Linked DNA regions of Homo sapiens: regions 2, 3 and 4 are each linked to region 1. The links are contacts of gene promoters, found by promoter capture Hi-C in blood cells and fetal thymus (Javierre and others, 2016). All regions are on one chromosome and are shown on one strand. Each heading gives the region's core, a stretch centred on a gene start or on the middle of the fragment in contact. The rest is flanking DNA. Distances are from core to core; before and after follow the strand shown.

What was found. Contacts are between HindIII fragments. The CHiCAGO score rates a contact against its expected background, and 5 or more counts as called.
Region 2: a contact is called between a fragment that was not itself captured here and the fragment with the promoter of FOXP1 in region 1, in 1 of 17 cell types (total B cells). The highest score is 6.5, in total B cells.
Region 3: a contact is called between a fragment that was not itself captured here and the fragment with the promoter of FOXP1 in region 1, in 1 of 17 cell types (naive B cells). The highest score is 5.1, in naive B cells.
Region 4: a contact is called between a fragment that was not itself captured here and the fragment with the promoter of FOXP1 in region 1, in 1 of 17 cell types (neutrophils). The highest score is 5.1, in neutrophils.

What each region holds. Positions count from the first base shown.
Region 1 is chr3:71,582,301-71,585,153 of GRCh38, forward strand. FOXP1 (forkhead box P1) reads right to left here and starts at 1,428. Exons shown (of 21, transcript NM_001349338.3): 1 at 1,271-1,428. FOXP1-DT (FOXP1 divergent transcript) reads left to right here and starts at 2,643. Exons shown (of 1, transcript NR_182289.1): 1 at 2,643-2,853. RefSeq lists a silencer at 1,301-1,540 and an enhancer at 1,618-1,912. The HindIII fragment of the contact is 2,384 bases long and covers 302-2,685 here.
Region 2 is chr3:71,346,240-71,349,092 of GRCh38, forward strand. The region is part of intron 4 of FOXP1 (forkhead box P1); the gene reads right to left. LOC124906248 (a long non-coding RNA gene) reads left to right here. Exons shown (of 4, transcript XR_007095957.1): 2 at 320-399. Among named protein-coding and RNA genes, the nearest start is that of FOXP1-AS1, 58 kb to the left of the region's middle. The HindIII fragment of the contact is 1,241 bases long and covers 824-2,064 here.
Region 3 is chr3:71,382,444-71,385,296 of GRCh38, forward strand. All of the region lies in intron 3 of FOXP1 (forkhead box P1), which reads right to left. Among named protein-coding and RNA genes, the nearest start is that of FOXP1-AS1, 94 kb to the left of the region's middle. The HindIII fragment of the contact is 1,750 bases long and covers 567-2,316 here.
Region 4 is chr3:71,430,368-71,433,220 of GRCh38, forward strand. The region is part of intron 3 of FOXP1 (forkhead box P1); the gene reads right to left. Among named protein-coding and RNA genes, the nearest start is that of MIR1284, 110 kb to the right of the region's middle. The HindIII fragment of the contact is 4,303 bases long and covers 1-2,853 here.

The sequences.
Region 1 (2,853 bases), core at 178-2,677:
GCGGGGGCGAGGGAAGGCGGAGGCAGCAAATGACCGCGACCCCGCGGCAACTGGCAAACTCCTCGGCTCCCGGCGCCGCCGCCACCGCCGTGGTCCCCACTCGAAGCGCACGCCGCCTCGGCTCGCTGGCTCCAGGGAGTCGTCTCGGCGGGACAGGAATAGAGCGCAGGGAGCTCGGGAGGAAGGCTGCGCGCAAGCGAGGGACGGAGAGCCATCGGCCGCCAGGACAGGGCCGGAGGGACGAGGCGACACGCGCGCGACGCAGGACAAATCGGAGCTTGGGAAATCTCCCCGTCCCCCAAGCTTCAGAGGGGGGTAAAATCAGAAAATGTGTGTGATGGTGGGAGAGAGATCCGGGCGCGGCGACTCCTCGCAGCGCATCCGGCTCCCGCACCCACCCGTGGATCTGGCCACGGCTGTTGCGGACTCGTCTCGGGAAAGCGGAGGCCGAGCGCGCGTAGGGGTGCGTGTCTGGCTGGGGGTGCGCAGGTGCGTGTTTGAATTTTCCGGGCTCCGAGGGGGTGGCGGGAGAGCTTCCTCGCCGCTGACTCTCGGGGTAACGCGCGCGTGGCAGCGGGGAAGTTCCCCAGTGCGGGGCCCAGGGCCAGGCACCACAGTCAGTTTGCTGGGGCCCGCGGGGCAGCTCAAGGGCACCGAGGGGGCACACACCCGCGGGGAAAGAAGGGGAAAAGTTTGCTCCAAGTCTAAACTTTGGGCCTAGGAGGCGCCCGGCGCGCGCCCCCTCCCGCCGCGGCCAGGACCCGGGACCCCGCACCGGCCCCGCGCCCGGGCGGCCACCGGACGCCAACGCCGGACATCGAAAGTTGCGCCAGGCGGCCTGGGCTTATTGATTTCTCTCCCCTAGGCGATCGTGGAGAGCGCAGAGAGAGGCGTGAAGGGGCCTACGGGCAGGCGATCTCGCCTCCTCACAGTCGCCACCGCCCCCGCCCCCATTTGACTTATGCAAATAAACCCAAAGGGTGCGGGCGCCGCCGGAGCTCCCTCCACCCGCGCGCCGGCCCGCAGCCCCCACCCATCCCAGAGCTGGGCCTCGACCCGGGGGGGAGAGGAAGAGAGGGGAGGGCTGGGGGAGATGCACGTGGAGCCTGGAGGTGGAAAGTAGTTGTTTTTTTTTTTCCATTTTTTTTCTCTTTTTCTTTCTTTCTTTTTTTTTTTTTGTGCTGGTTGTTGTTGTTGTTTAAAGTGGCGGAAACAAGACAGGAGGCGGCTTGGGAAAAAGTGGAGCAGAAATGGAAAAATACAAACTCACCCGCTGCAAATGGTCTCTCGGTGCAAACTAAGGTGTTTTCGGGCCTTTCCCCGCGCGCGCCCACTCCCGCCCGCGCGCGCACCCCGCGCACACACTCACTCGCGCACACACGCGCGCACACACGCACTCCCGGGCGAGGGCCGGGCCGCCGCGAGTACAGCGTGCAACCGCCACACAATAAATAACAATAGATTCCTCCGCTCCGGACTAGCTTCCCGGAGCCCAGCCAGCGCCGGTGGCGGCGGCGGCGGCGGCAGAGGCGCGGGCAGCACCGGCCCGGGGGCGCACCCCGGCCCGACCCTCTACCTCCCGCAGGGGTCCCCTCTCCGCTTCACGCACCCCGCTGGGCACTCCAGCGGCCCCCCGAGCGGGAGCGGCTCCCTCTTTGCCGTTCGCCGGGGCGCTGGCGCCCACCCCCCTCCTCCCTCCCCCCTCCCCCCCGACATCCCGGAACAAATAAATAAATAAGGCGCGCGAGAGAGGCCAACACGTCGCGGAGGGAGATGTTGTTATTTTTTGCTGTTGTGCGTCCCTGACGTCACATCCACCTGCTGGGTAAACAACCGGGCTCCCAGAAAAAAAAAATCGCAATTGCCAAAGAATGGGGGGGGGGGTTGGGGGGAGGGATCCAGGGAGGGGGAAGTGAGGGGCGTCCAGGCAGGATTGGAAAGAGGAGAGGGAGGCAGAGCCCCGCGGACCAGAGAGAGGAAGGGAACGCCAGAGCAGTCCCTGGCAACAGAGGGATCTGGCAGGAAAGACCTGGAAAATAAGGGGCAGGGGGGCGGAGGGGGAGATTCCTCAGGAGATGGGAAATGGGGGGCCCATTCAGACAGCGGAAAAAACGAGAAGGGAGAGTGTTAACTAGGGACGAAGATGGGAATGCGATGGCTATTTGCTTGGATTCTGAGCTAAAAATATGAAAGGGAGGGGAGAGGACAGGCTAGAATGTGAGTTTCCTCCAGTTAAAAGTGAAAGTGTTTTGCCATCAGTGACAGTTGAAGGAGAGCGGGGTGGGAGGTGGTGTTTTCAACCCCCTTTCTCCCTCTCTCCCGTCCTCCCTCGGTCTCTCCTCTTTCTTTCTGCACTTTGTCCAATGAAAGAAGGCGAGTTCGGGAGGTGAAAGTTCAGCAGAAGGACAAACCCCTGTTTGCAAGGAAACAGAAACCCCGCCAGCCAGCGAGGGGTTTTCTCCCCTGTTTCTCGGAATCAGGAGAGTGTGAATGTGGGACGAGCTTCTGCCCCCTTGTCAGAGCCACTGCAGGAATGTGCAATCGAGTCCACTTTGGGGGAAGGTGGCTGCATCAGGAACTGTGTTCTTGCCACGACTCCTCTTAGGAAAACGCCTGGGGGCTAGCATGTCAGTCCGTTGTTTAACACAAATTACCTGCTCTCCCAGTGATCAGTCACGTGCAAAAAGCTTTGTCCAATTCTTTGAAAAGGTGAGATTTTTTTTTTTCTTTTTGCGGTTTTTGAAGTTTGGTTGAATTTAGAAATTCGAAGGAATAAACTAAGAGCCTGAATTAAATGTTTTGAAATATACATACATAAAACAAAAGACACTAGTATTTCTTTCACTTTTATCA
Region 2 (2,853 bases), core at 194-2,693, 240 kb before region 1:
AGCTCTCCTGCAGATGTTGGAGTTGGTGATCTAAGCCTCACACTTGGAAAGGTTGTGTGACTGGAGCCATGATATATAAAGTAAGACCCAAGCGCCAAAGTTTTGATTTAGCCAAGCAAACGTGGCTGTTTTTGTTGGGTGGAAGAGGCATTTTTTTCACTGAGCAAAGAATTACGGTAAACATCTGCTAACCATGACCACAGAAGAGGTGGTTGTTTTCATCCAAGGTTATTTTAAAGGAATAAATTTAATTAATACAACCACACAGTAATAGTATAGTATCCAACCTTATAATAAGTCTGCTTGCTTCTATCCACAGACCTATTCACTAAGGAAGCACCTAATCGAGAAAGTTTCCTAATGTTGCCTTTATGGCTTCTTGAGGACCACGGATGCGGGGTAAGACTTTTCCATCTCAAGGGATGCTTGAAAACCCAAGCAGACTTCAGTTCTTATCTCATTCCTTAGGCAGTTTTTTTTCCAGAGGGTTCTCTTGCTCTATTAGCAAGACTTTATATAATACACATATTATTTAGGCAACTAAAGCCCCATTAAAAAAAATTAATGAGGCCGAGGCGGGTGGATCATGAGGTCAAGAGATAGAGACTATCCTGGCTAACATGGTGAAACCCGTCTCTACTAAAATTACAAAAATTAGCTGGGCGTGGTGGCACGCACCTGCCTCAGGGAGGCTGAGGCAGGAGAATCACTTGAACCCGGGACATGGAGGTTGCAGTTAGCCAAGATCGCACCACCATTGCACTCCAGCCTGGCAACAGAGCAAGACTCCATCTCAAAAAAATTAATGTTCTAATGGGTTGAAAGCTTTACCTCACATATAAATGTCCCAGACCGCATCTTTCTCTCAAACTGCTCCTTTGAAAGTAACTATAAGAATTAATAGAATCCAGAATGGTTTGGGTTTTAAAAAATTCCTTATTTGGTTCTTTCTTTAAGAAGGAATGGGGTGGTAGGGAAGCTAGTAGGAAGCTGAATTATTCAGGCTGACTGTCATTCAGATCCGTCAAATTACAGCTCAAAACATCACTTTACCTTTGAACAACCAGCCATACCTGCTCCAAAATGAAAGTCACCCATAATTATTATTAAATGTTCCTAATTAAGATAAAATAATCAAATTCATAAAAACCTCCACTTCCATTCTGACTTAAACAAACTTCTGCCTCTACCATCAATATCAGCAGAGCCAGAGCCTTCTAGATTTAGAAAAGCTGGTTTTGCATAAACTACATGCTAGCACTGAATAAAACTGAAGAACTAAGGTTTACTATTTCTGGCCTAGGGTCATGTCAATATCATCAATCAACAAGATACTGAGTTTGCTGAATGTAAAGAACAGAGTCGGCTGGGGGAGGTGGTTCATGCCTGTAATCCCAGCACTTTGGGAAGCCGAGGTGGGTGGATCACCTGAGGTCGGGGGTTCGAGACCAGCCTGACCAACATAGAGAAACCCCGTCTCTACTAAAAATACAAAATTAGCCAGGCGTGGTGACCCATGCCTGTAATTCCAGCTACTCGGAGGGCTGAGGCAAGAGAATCGCTTGAACATGGGAGGCGGAGGTTGCAGTGAGCAGAGATCGTGCCACCGAACTCCGGCTCAGCAACAAGAGCAAAACTCTGTCTCACAAAAAAAAAAAACAGAGTTGTCCCTCATTATACACAGGGATACAGTCCAAGAGCCCCGGTGGATGCCCAAAACCATGATTAGTACTGAACCCTATACATATGATGTGTATTCCTATACATGTACACCTATGAAAAAGTTTAATTTATAAATTAGGCACAGTAAGAGATTAATGATAACAAATAACATAGGACAATTTTAACAATACTGTAATAGAAGTTATGTGAATGTGGTCTCTCTCTCTCTAACTATTTTCTTGTACTGTACTCACTTATTTTCAGACCATCATTGACTGCTGGTAACTGAAATCACAGAAAGTGAAACCATGGATAAGGGGAAACTACTGTATTTTCTCTCTTTGATTTATCTATTTCCCGTAGAACTAGAACACAGCAATTCATAAAGGCCAGACTTCAGTAAGCTTATTGAAAGAATAAATACTAAATTCATGAACTCCATTTATTCCAACAGTTGTAATATCAAACAGGGTCCCAGATGTTGGACCAGGCTAAGAGCAGCTTAGAAGCTTGGAGTGGGAGGCTGTTGGTGTTTCATCTTTTCCACCCACTAGTCTTCAACAAATACCTATTAAACACCTCCCAGGTGCCAGTTGCTGTGTTCAGTGTGTGTGTGTGTGCGTGTGTGTGTGTGTGTGTGTGTGTGTGCGTGCGCGCGCGCACGCATATGCATGTGTGTATAAGTCACACATGCAGGTGTGTATGTGTGTGCACACGCATATGCATGTGTGTATAAGTCACACATGCAGGTGTGTGTGTCGAGCAGAGGAGGGAGTAAAGGGGGAGGTGCTATCATTTGAATGTTATTGATACTAGACAGAATCTTGAGGGGTAATTAACACAGGTTTTAGGATTCACCAAGTCTGGAAAATTACTCTGTGTTTGTCTGTTCACCTTCCACAATGCTAACTGTTATGTGTGCTAAGAAAGTAAAGAAGGTAGGCAGAGATGAACATGGAAGAAGCAAGCAAGTTTTTGATACCCCAACTTCCCTTAAGTGATGATGAACCATTAGACAAGAGACCGGACTACAGAGGCCGCAGTCTATTTAATAACCATCAATGCCTTCAGCTATAAAACAAAGCCAGCCTAATGTAGCCCACTAATTCTGCCCCAACACAGTCAAGTTTCACTTCTATAAGTAACTCCAACATCAGAGGCCACTGTGGTCAGAATTGGAATATAACCATG
Region 3 (2,853 bases), core at 192-2,691, 200 kb before region 1:
ACATGGCCTAAAACATGCCAACTAATATATTCCATCTCCCTGGCCACAGGGAGGGTGGTATGTGGCAGAAACAAGTCCAACTAGAGTTTCAAGAATTTTTCTGAAAATCCTAAGAAAATATTCCCTTTTCCACTCTCCTGCTTCACATGTGCAAGGAAATCTACAGCTTGACAGTTGCTAGGAATCATCTTAAGACTGCAAATAGGGCCACTCTGAAGATAAGCCAACACCATGAAAAGCAGAGCAGAGAGCTGGATCAAGTCTCTCCTGCAGCCTACCTACTAAGGACTTGCCAGTGACACTCTTTAAGCCTGCCTTTACTGGACTTTCTGTTGAGTACAATCAAACTCATCCTAATTTAAATACTGAAAAACACCAGGATAACATCTTCTAATCCTTTGACGGCATCTTCTAATCCTTGGATGGCATCTTCTAATCCTTTGACGGCATCTCCTGGGGTTTGGGGATCCCAGGCCTTGGGAGCCACTGTTCTGATGAGAAATACATCTTACATATTTAGGTGTGGGTATGAGAACTTGAAAAATAACCAATAAGGGTGCACTTCAAGCTTGGTAGATGTTTTTCAGAGTTTTTGTAACACCAAGTCAGGAACATCACTGTGAAAACTATGAAAGATAACACCATCAGGAAACTGCCTGATGTTCCTCATCTAATTATGAGATACCCATGCTGGCTGACATTATTATGGTAAACTGACATGAGAAGATGGGCCAGCTCCAGGTGGCTCTCTAACAGCAAATGCTTTCCGCTAGCTCTGCATCAAACAGCACCACTTTACCCTTTCTTTGGCATCCTTAATTTCTAGGGGAAGGGGAAGAATTCATTATCAGAGAAGACTCGATTAAAGAATGACATATAAAGTGTCAAACTTTACAAGGAAGACTGCATAACCAATGGCAACAATAAAATGCTGTGAGGCTGAGATTTTGGTTTTGGGCCCTAGGATTTAGGGCAGACATTGTTGGTCTAGTATCAGAAAATAAGTATCAATGAGAAAATGTTGGTATTTAGGGCATGCACTTTGAATCAACCTATTTGATTAAAGGGAAATACATGAAAAGAATAGAGGGTGGCAGGTCCAGTCAAAATAGGTAAAACCTTAATATGTCTTTTTCTATGCAAAGTAGCTTCAGTTTTTGCTACATTTATGGGAGAGAGAGTGGAGGGAGAAAAAGCAGGGGTGTCTGTGCACATGTACTTAACTAAAAAGATCATTTTACTAGTCAGCTCATCCTTGACACATCGCTTGAAACATGGAAGACCAGGCCCCCTTGAACCTGGTTTGGAAGGAAATGGTGAGACAGAAAGAGAAAACTAAATTGCCGTTTTTAAGAAACATGAGTTGGTAACAGAAACCAGAAGAATGAGAGGTGAGAAGATAGATAAAAGAGGGTAAGTCAGGCAATTTGGAGGTCATGATGTATAGAGAAAGCTCTTCAGAGACAACTATGTATGTGCAAACATACAAGGCTGGCGGGCGCGGTGGCTCACGCCTGTAATCCCAGCACTTTGGGAGGCTGAGGTGGGCGGATCACCTGAGGCAGGAGTCCCAGACCAGCCTGGCCAACGTGGTGTAACCCTGCCTCTACTAAAAATACAAAAAAATTAGCCAGGCATGGTGGTGTAAGCCTGTAGTCCCAGTTATGTGGGAGGCTGAGGCAGGAGAATCGCTTGAACCCCCAGAGGTGGAGGTTGCAGTGAGCTGAGATCGCCCGTTGCAATCTGGGCAACAGAGTGGGACTCCGTCTCAGCAAAACAAACAAACAAACAAACAAACAAACCAACAAACAAACAGGCTGTTAAACATCCTTCCAAATTTCTCTGATGCAAACTTCCTCCAACTCCCTAAACTTCCACGGTCTGTGTGAGCTGTGTGGAAGGAAATTGTGGAAAGAAGCTAATTTCTAACTCTGAGAGAAGAGAGAAAAGCAACGGAAACAAGGAATATCAAGAGTTCTCTAACAAAAATCCACCACGAAAACAAAGCCTCCAGAAATGCTCATTGGAATTCCCACAGGGTATAAGATAAAAGTTCAAGCCAATTTTATTAGAATCTCAAAAGTCAAAGTGACCTCAGCTGATAAATGACTTAAAGCATTATGACAAAGCTCTCAGTAATGTGGCCAATTGGAGACTCTCAGAAGAAATGTGAACGACATTCTGAGTTGACACTGGTATGAGGACCTGCAGCATCTTATCACATATATTTTCCTAAAACAATTGTCACCAACTGTAAAGGGTTCAGGTGAATTTCATATCACTGGCAGTCTGAGTGGTGGAGTGGGTGGCAATGAAAGCTTTTTAATTTTAAGGTGTTCCAAATAACTCTAACCATTTAGGAAATGGCCATGTAAGGAATTAAGAAGTAGAAGCTTAAGGCTACTAGCATGGGAAGGCAATTTTTGTCAGGGTGACACATTTTCTAGAACCCTGAAAGGAAATCACTTAGTGGTATCTTGAAAGAAAAAGAAACGGGCACTCTCTCAGCCCTTCAATCAACAACACAAAACAGACTTGAGCAATAATACAGCATTTCTTTGGCTACAGGAAAAACAAAAACAGAACACAACACAACATCAGTGACCCTGAAGTGTGTGCTGTTAACCTTCTTAGTAATTAAGAAGGGGCACGGGAAAAGGAAGTAAAAAAAAAAAAAAATCCTAACTGCAATCCTTCATTGGCAAAAGCAATGCTTCTCATATGCATTTCGGCAGATGAATGGATTTGCAAAGGAGAGACATACCAACCCAAATGAAAAGTTAACACATTTACTGACCACACTGTCAGCCCTTATTTCACAATAGAATGGTAATCTTGCTGAATTCTTTAAAA
Region 4 (2,853 bases), core at 112-2,611, 150 kb before region 1:
AAGAAAGGTTATGAAATTTTATAACAGATGACAAATTGGTAGCTTTTCCCCACTTTTCTGGAATGGATTCAGTAACAGATTTGAATCTTGGGTTTTGATGCTTGTCTGTGATATGCAGGGATCCCAAGTTCAAGAGGAAAGAAAGAAAAAAAAAAAACAGGAGTCATCCGCATGTTACTTCACTTACAGTAGGGTCCATTCTTTACCATTTATTCTAGAAATTATTTGGTTCCTTATTTAACCTGCTTTGATTTAAAACAACATTGAATTTTAAATTTTCAATCTCAGGGTCTTCTATACTTCAAGCTCCCAGACTTATCCCTAAAAGAGGAAACTACCTGCCCAGATTCTAGGAAAATAAAGAGAGAAAGCATCTCATTCTGCCACGTTGGAAAAGAGGCTTAAACTCTGCCTTATGGTGTCTGTCACCCAAACTCATGGGCTGTTGGGGGAGGGGAGGCGGCGGGGGGCAGGCCCATGTTTCTATGGCAAGAATGGCCACAGGGGAAGGCCTTACAGGTCACTGACTTTAGAGCAACGCAGTAGCCACAACCACCGGGAAATATGGCACCTGTACCAATGGGCCCCTCCAATTTATATGAAACACTTTCCTAGACATTCTACCCCACCACTTTGATTTTACTGCAACAAAGCATTTAGAAGGTGCATGGTGGACAGAACCAGGCAGGGAGGTGAGTGGTGGAAGATGAGCCGGTGGACATGTCCCTTGCGTGCATGCAGCAAGCTCAGGCAATCTAGGGAGGCAGGTCGATCTGCAAATGAGCCATGCAAAGACAGCACAGACAAAAGGAATCCACTCTTGAGGAGTATCACAAATCTCCAATGGGAGCAGAGTTCAGTGGCCGTTCTCTGGTTGGTGGGCAGGAAATCAGGGAAGGCTTCATGGATGAGGAAGCCTTATTCTCCATAGACAGAGTGCGAGAATAAGTGGCAATGTGTGAGAAGATGCTTGCCCAGGAAGTACCTGTGTGGTTTTCTCAGCGACTTAACTTTTCACTCCAGTGAATACTCCTAATAAGAGCTGGCCTGGATGACTCAGTGCTCATACCATGCTAGGCACTTAGCTAAGCTACGAGCTTCAGGCACTCAATTCTTACCATGACTTTTGCCCAATTTACAGATAGAAAACCTGAGGGTCCAAGAGATCTGGTAATTTTCCAGGGTCGCGAACCAAGTAAGTGGCGAAGCAGAGATTCAAACCCTGGTCCATCTGGTCCCACACAGCCCCATTGCCTGGTTTGAATACTTACTACAACTAAACATATTTCCAAAGGTATTTGCTAAAGTTAATAGAAACTTCAGAACTCCTACCTGCAAACTCATTTCACAGGCAACAAAACACACCAAAGACGAATGGAGACTAACTTTTCCAAGTCACCCGATGACCTTGGGTCAAATTCAGAATCCAGGCCTCCTGGCTTTTTCCTGACTTTATTTTTCTTTCCAGGTATTTATTCTGACTTCATTGTGTAGTGTCTATGGAAAACCAAAGCTATAGAGTGATTTTTTTAAAAAGACTAAATTTAAACACCATCATATGTGCAATTCCTGTTGCCGTGTTGCCCCTGGGTGTCATTCTGTGTTGCATCTGAACCATCAGAGAAGCAGAGAGAACCTATGACCAAGCTGCAGGATCCCTTAAGGCTGCTAGTCTTTGAAAACCTATTTATGGCAAGAATTTCTTAAGGGCCAAACAATGTGCCAGGAGCACTCTTTAGAGAAAGCAGACGCTGACATCAGTGTCCTCAAGAACTTCCATTCCCACAGAGCACTAAGCAACTAGGATGGATTGAGATATGCAGAGATCAACCACTGACGACTGTGGTGTGCATAGACTTCTCACGGCTGACCTTGTCGTGGCCGGGAACGGCAGCCCAGCACAGACGCAGAATATTCCCTTTTGCTACTTTCCTGCACCCATCGAGTTGATTTTTCCATCTCCTCCCCGGCCCTGCACAGAGCATTTTCCCCTTCCCCTTCCCTGCCTCACCACCCCTGAACCAGCTTCTGACCTTGCACCCCTCCCTACATTCAAAGCACAATTGACGCACCCCTCCCGGGCCCTGGCCCAATGACCCTCATTCTTCTCTCCCTTTGGACGCTTCCTTTTCCTGTCCCTCCCAGTCTAATAATCTGCTCCTATTCCACCAGGTCCCCTAGGCTACGCCCCACCTAACATAGGGCAGGGCCTGGGCTGGCTCCAGTGTCTCAGTTGTGGCTTCAAAGGGTTTGGGCCTAACACCCTGGGCGCCTGCAGCACCAGAATCCTGGGATCAGATCACCAGCGCTACTCATGATCGCTTCACCCCATCCCCAAGCACCCTATCCCCCCCATCCAAAGAAGCAGAACTCAGCATTTACAGCATTTACATTCATTTTCAGGCTTAAGTGTGGAGCTCCTAAGTCAAGCCTTCAAAGCAGTTCGACACTTAACACTGACAGGAAATGTGAACATGTTAAAAAAAAAAAAAAAAAAAATTAAAAAAAAAAGCCCCATGATTTGGCTGAGGAACTATTCTTTGCAATGTTTCCAAGGATATACCAGAGTCTGAGCTTTAAGACAGACAAAATAATTTGAATGATTCTAATGGTTAGAACACCCTGATCATTTTGTACCTGCTTGGTCTTCTTGGATCTTTTGGTGTTAAAAAAAAAATAGTGACTTGAGTAACTCATTTTGTCCTTTTACCCTCTTCTCAGCGATGGGCAAATTAGTGATGATGGTAGAGTTATTACATGTAACTCTATACATGTTCTTATATGTAACTCATATATGTTAGCATATGTAAGACTTCAGCCATCAAATGGTAAAAATCATGTCATGAACTATTG